Regions from separate parts of the Homo sapiens genome. Here region 2 is linked to region 1. Evidence: promoter capture Hi-C in 16 types of primary human blood cells and fetal thymus (Javierre and others, 2016). All regions are on one chromosome and are shown on one strand. Each heading gives the region's core, a stretch centred on a gene start or on the middle of the fragment in contact. The rest is flanking DNA. Distances are from core to core; before and after follow the strand shown.

Region 1 (2,700 bases), core at 30-2,529:
GCAAAACGTGAAGTAAGAGACGACCTGTCAAACAGCTGCTATCTAGTTACTCCCTCGGCAGCACTCCCAACTTCTCCCGCGATGTCTGTGTGTAAGAGAAAGATGTCAAAGCACCAAGAAAACCACGGGGGCTGTCAGAGCAACAGCCAAGTCCAAACCGTGCATCCCAGGGTGAAATCCCACCCGTACCCTCAAGAGCTGGTCAGACTGCGGCTCTTTTCTAATATGAGTCTACCTAAAATAGAAAAATAAACACAACCACAGACCCTGGCCAACCCTCTCTCTCCTCCCCTTTGTGACTCTCCCAAACGCTGGAGGGATGTTAACCTCTGGCAGGCCCGTGGAAGCCAAGCCCCGCGACCTGAGGAGGCGTCCAGGAGCCTCGGCGCAGCCCTGGGGCCTCGAGCCCGTGTCCTCCACCCACCCGACAGGGCCGGTCACCGGTCACACAAAGGAGCCAGTCGCGGGCGCTGGACGCGGGACTCGCCCGAGAGCAGGGAGCCACATCTGGTTCCTGCACGCTGGCAAAAGAGACCCGCTGGAAAATAAGGACTAACGCCCAAACCTGTTGCACAATTCGGGTCCCTTTCACCCAGAAATGAACAAGGGCGCTCAGGAACGGAAAAGCGCGCGGCCCGGTCTCTGCGGGCCGCGGCCGCACCCGGCAGACGGCGCGGAGGCAAAGGCGGCCCGCAGGGCTCCCACCTCCGGCGCTTTGTCTGTGGCGGCAAGGCGGTGGGGGCGGTCGGGGCGTTGGGAGCAGAGGCGGTGGCGGGGCGGGGGCGCCCCTCCTTCACTGCGTAGCCCCTCCGCCCCGCGGCCCGCGCAGGGGAAGAAAGCCGGGCCCGCTACCGCCGCCGCCGCCGACTGCACCGGCCCAAGCCGGCCACCCGGCCGCGGGGCCTGCGCGCTTCTCCCGCCCGGGCCGAGCGGCGGCCACACTCACCTGGCTGGCGCTGACGCTAGCGGCCGGCGGCTCCGGGGCGTTGGGGAAGACAGGGGAACGCTAGCGAGGTGCGGGCGGAGGCGGAGGGCGCGGCGGGAGGAAGGCGGGCTGGGGGCGGAGCGGGCCCGGGCGGCGGCGGCAGCAGCGGCGACGGCTGCGGCTCCAGTCACTCGCGGCAAATCGCGTCCCGGCCCCTCCGTGCGTCAGGCGGGGAGCGGGGGTGCGGGTGGCCCGGCGACCTCTCGGCACCCGCGGCCCGAGCCGCGTCCGCGCGACCCCGCGCGCGCCCGGGTGACGGCGGTACAGCAACCCGCCCGGCGCGGGAAGGAGGAAGGAGGCGGGGCGGGGCGGGGCGTCCAACCGGGCCTGGGGCTGAGGGCTGGGCGCGAGTGGGACTCTGGCGCTCCGGACGGACCCTGCCGTCCCCACCCCTAGCCGAGGCCCAGGCTCCCCAGGCGGGAGGCAGTCTTGGAGAGTGGAAGGGTACCTAGATCTGGAGTCAGAAGTCTGGGCTTAAGAGAGGGTCCGTTACTTGACACCCTGGCAGGTCATTTATTTCCTCTGGCCTCATGCTGGAGTTCGAAGGTTCGAGTACAAAGTCTCCAAGAGCTGCTCCCAAGTACTCACTGCCAAGCGGTGGTGTGGCTGAAGGATGAAGGCAGATGAAAGGGAAAGGGTTGCGGTGAGGAAGGGCTGGATTCAGGGCATTTGTTTTGCTTTGAGGATCTTTCCACTGGACAGTCCAAAATTAATCCACAATGGGGCTCCCTGATAATGGCTACTTCCCCATTTTTACCAACCTAGTTATTTTTCTCCAAGTATACTGACTTAAGAGTCCTTGTTTTCATTTTATTGCGCAAATCATTTGTATGTCATTTCCTGAATTCAGTTCAAAAGAGTCATCAGCAAATTCACACCAGATCAGAGCAGCTGTGTGGTCCCAATTTCAAGACTTCCATATTATTCACTCAGCCACTCACTTCAGTATCACCTAATTCCGTTGATAAAATCTTCCTATTCCAACAACTAAGCAACCAAATTTCTCTCCACTAAAGTTTTCTGACTTAAAATCCCGTGGATTAATTCTTCCTCTTAATTCTGTGAATATCAGTCTGTCTCCATGACTTCCACCTCTTTGCCACTCTAGGTCAAGCCTTTAACTTCACTGCTGCTTCAGTTCCATATAACTGCCAGAGAGAATGCTCCAAAAAGACAGAGCTAAGCATGAAACGTCCCTCTTTAAAATCATTCAAAGTCTCTCCACCTGGTTGAATCAGGTTCAAACTCATTACCATGGTTTACAAAGCCATTTAAAATCTGATCTATTGACCTCCTTGGCTCCAGCTTCAACTCCTAATATATCTACGTATCACACAAATTCAACAGACTTTGTCTTTGTGCCCTTGTAGTTTTCCCCCACCTGAAATCCATCCCTCATTTAACCAGTTGAACTCCTATTGTCCTTCAAGATAATGAAGATAATGCATCCCTTCCTCCTTGGAATCTTCCCTGACATCATCTCCTTTCACCACATCTGTATCCTTACCCCACACATTTACAATGAATTAAATACTCTTTTTCTCTCTGCTTTCATAAAATCGTCTATCTACAGTATTCCCTATGATAATCTTTAATACTTGCTTTTTTCCTGTTGCTTTGCTTGGTGGCCTTTTCTTCCTAGACTGTGTGTTCCTTAAAAGGACAGGGATTTTGTCTAGTTCATTTTTTTTGCTCCCCAGAACATAGCACAGTGC
Region 2 (2,825 bases), core at 69-2,568, 2.0 Mb after region 1:
GGACAGTAAGTGTCAAGGCATGGAAGAAACCCCCTGAACTTAATTGACTAGTCTTGGCGAGGTAGAATGGGTGCCTCAAGGCAACTACGAACCAGAGATTGCCCTATAGGGCAAAGATACATTGTGTCAATATTCCCCAGACATTGTTTGTTTTATAAATATATATGTACATATAGATTCAGATGTTCAAATTAGACAGAAATGATATCTGTTATGTATGTTGCAAATGTTTATGTCCCTGTTTTTCCTTTTTTAAAAAAATGTATGATGTTCCTTGATGTAGACAAGTTTTACATTTTCATATTGTCAAATCTACCAATTACATACTTTATGGTGTCTAAATTTTGTAAATCTTAAAGAGTCCTTTCCCTCATCAAGAAAACATTATATTTACATCCATTTTCTCCAAATATTTTTATGGCTTTTAAAAACTTTACCTGGAGGCATTTTGTAGCTACATATACATATGTATGTGTATACATACATACACATACATGTATACATATATTTAATAACCAACCCTTGAGCTCAACATATTTTGTTGAATAATCCATTTTTTCCTCACTGATTTGAAGTGTTACTTTACCATATATTAAATTCTTATTGCTTGTCTTTTTTCTGATCTTTGTTTCATGTTCCATTGATATATCTGTTTATTCCTTTACTAGTTCAAAAATATATTTTTAAAAGCTAGCTTTGAAATATGTTAATATCTATTTGAACTATTTCCCCCACTGCTTTTATTTATCAGCATTTTTTGGATCTTTTCATGAATTTTCCTCAGATGATTTCTGATTGGCATTTTCTTCATAGTATATTAAAATTTAATATTAAATCAAGAGAAACTTTTAAAAAAACAAAAGACAATTCTATTTTTCTCCATAGAATTTGTTAACATTCATTCATTTGGAGAATGGAAATAATTACCTCTATCTCCATCTTCCTCATCATCCAGTTCTGTTAGAAACAAAATGCAATTTAAAAATTGCAAAGTAGAATGAAATGTCAAGGCTTATCTAGATAAAAAAGCTAGAAAAATATTTGTGACTTCAGTATTTGAGAATCAAACCAAAGAAGGTGAGGTTTTTTGCCTTATATTATCCAGAGAATATACATTTTATTTGTACATGTATTAATTTCAGGATTTCTTTTCTCCTGATTTCAGAGTTTGTGGGTTTTTTTTTTTCTTTGCTATAATGATTAAGTTCCCAGACTTTAATGTGACTTTTTCAGTCATTTTAATGATGGAAAAAAATATAGAAGTTGGCTATCAAATTTATCTTTGCTTCTCCTTTTTCCTTTATCTCTTTGATTATATCAAAATTTCATTATTGTCCTCAAAATTACTGGGTTTCCCCCCAGTCAATACTTATTCTTTTAGGCCTAGATTTATAAAAATAATACCAAACTAATCAATTGATTCATTTTCTCCTGTAATTACGTATGCATGTATGTATGTATTATGTATTCCTTTTGAACTTAATCTTTTCTCTTAAGAACTATCTGTGGTGTGTGACTTCAAAAGAAGATTAAATATTTATAGTTATTGGAGGGACTTGGGGGCCATGGATTTTGCAGAGTCTTCTCTAGTGATCTTCTGCACCACAAAGAGTCAAAGTCATTGCATTGGCTACTTTTGTCACTCTCACTCTTCATGTCCTCCAAATATACAAGGGAGATAGTGCAGGGACCAATGATTTGGGTGGTGTATTGTAAAATCATCTGTAAGAACCAAAGAAGTTTATAATCTTTCAGCTTTGAGGTTACAAACAGAGTAAACGATCTAATTGCTTGATATATAGGCCCATTCCCTGCTGTGGATGATCCTCCTGGCTCAGTTTTGGAAAATAAAGGAGCAGACCAAACTGAGCTAGAAGGGAGAAAAGATGATGAATGCCAAAGAATATCTTCACCTAAAGAGAATCAAAATTAGCTATGCCAACTTGAGATGCCATCAGTTAAGCAAGTAATTCATGTTATCCTCATCTATAAGGATTTCTGTGATATTTTTATCTAAAAGATTTTTTAAACTAATACTTATTGAGTTTTACCAAAAAAGACCATAATAAATAAAACGTAATATATTTTCATATAACTAATTATGTTCTGTAATTTTAGCACCTTAACTCATGGCAATAAATTAGCAAAAACTGAGATTATTTGGTAGTATAACTACCCACATTGAGCACAGATGTTCAGCAAAAGATTTAGGAACTATTTTGGAAGCTCTCATTAGCTGAGGTAAATTAGCAGAATATTTATGGGTAATATTAAACTGTTCAGGTTCATATTTTCTTTCTTGATTGTTTTATCGAAGTCTCATAAATAGCAACAGCTGGCTTACTTGTCCTTTAGAAAGTTCTTGTAGATATCAGTAAGACTGAAGCCCAATATTTAACGGTTCTGAATATCAGAGCAGTGGCCTGGCCAGAGGTCACTCAAGCAAGCTCAATCCAGCTCCAGCTCTGCCCCCCAACCCCCACCCATGGGCCTCCTCTCATCTCCAAGACTTTGCTTTTTCCTAAAGTAGTTTATGGAATTGTTACAGTCCTAAGTTGTTTTTCAGAAGGGATCTAATTTGCTGTAGGTTATCTATCTCCTAGCCCAAAAATCCTCTAGGAGCCTAACTGATATCCAGAATACAAGGGATATATAGACTGAATATGTGAGAAGGGAATTAGAAGGCTTTATTATGTTTGCCATGGATTCTTCTAACCCAAACCAATACCCTATATGCATGCCTCCTTCTTCATCTGATTCATTCAGAAGCCCAAAAGATTCAATAAAGGCCAGGACTAGATACTAAATTAACAAAACATTTGAAC

What was found. The method cuts DNA at HindIII sites, captures the fragments that hold promoters and counts their contacts. A CHiCAGO score of 5 or more calls a contact.
Region 2: a fragment that was not itself captured here is called in contact with the fragment with the promoter of SESTD1 in region 1 in 1 of 17 cell types (M2 macrophages); the score reaches 5.3 in M2 macrophages.

The regions. Positions count from the first base shown.
Region 1 is chr2:179,263,553-179,266,252 of GRCh38, forward strand. SESTD1 (SEC14 and spectrin domain containing 1) reads right to left here and starts at 1,280. Exons shown (of 18, transcript NM_178123.5): 1 at 947-1,280. RefSeq lists an enhancer at 12-81 and silencers at 410-573, 682-751, 762-1,381. The HindIII fragment of the contact is 5,018 bases long and covers 1-2,700 here.
Region 2 is chr2:181,247,999-181,250,823 of GRCh38, forward strand. All of the region lies in intron 2 of LINC01934 (long intergenic non-protein coding RNA 1934), which reads left to right. Among named protein-coding and RNA genes, the nearest start is that of MIR4437, 56 kb to the right of the region's middle. The HindIII fragment of the contact is 3,598 bases long and covers 1-2,825 here.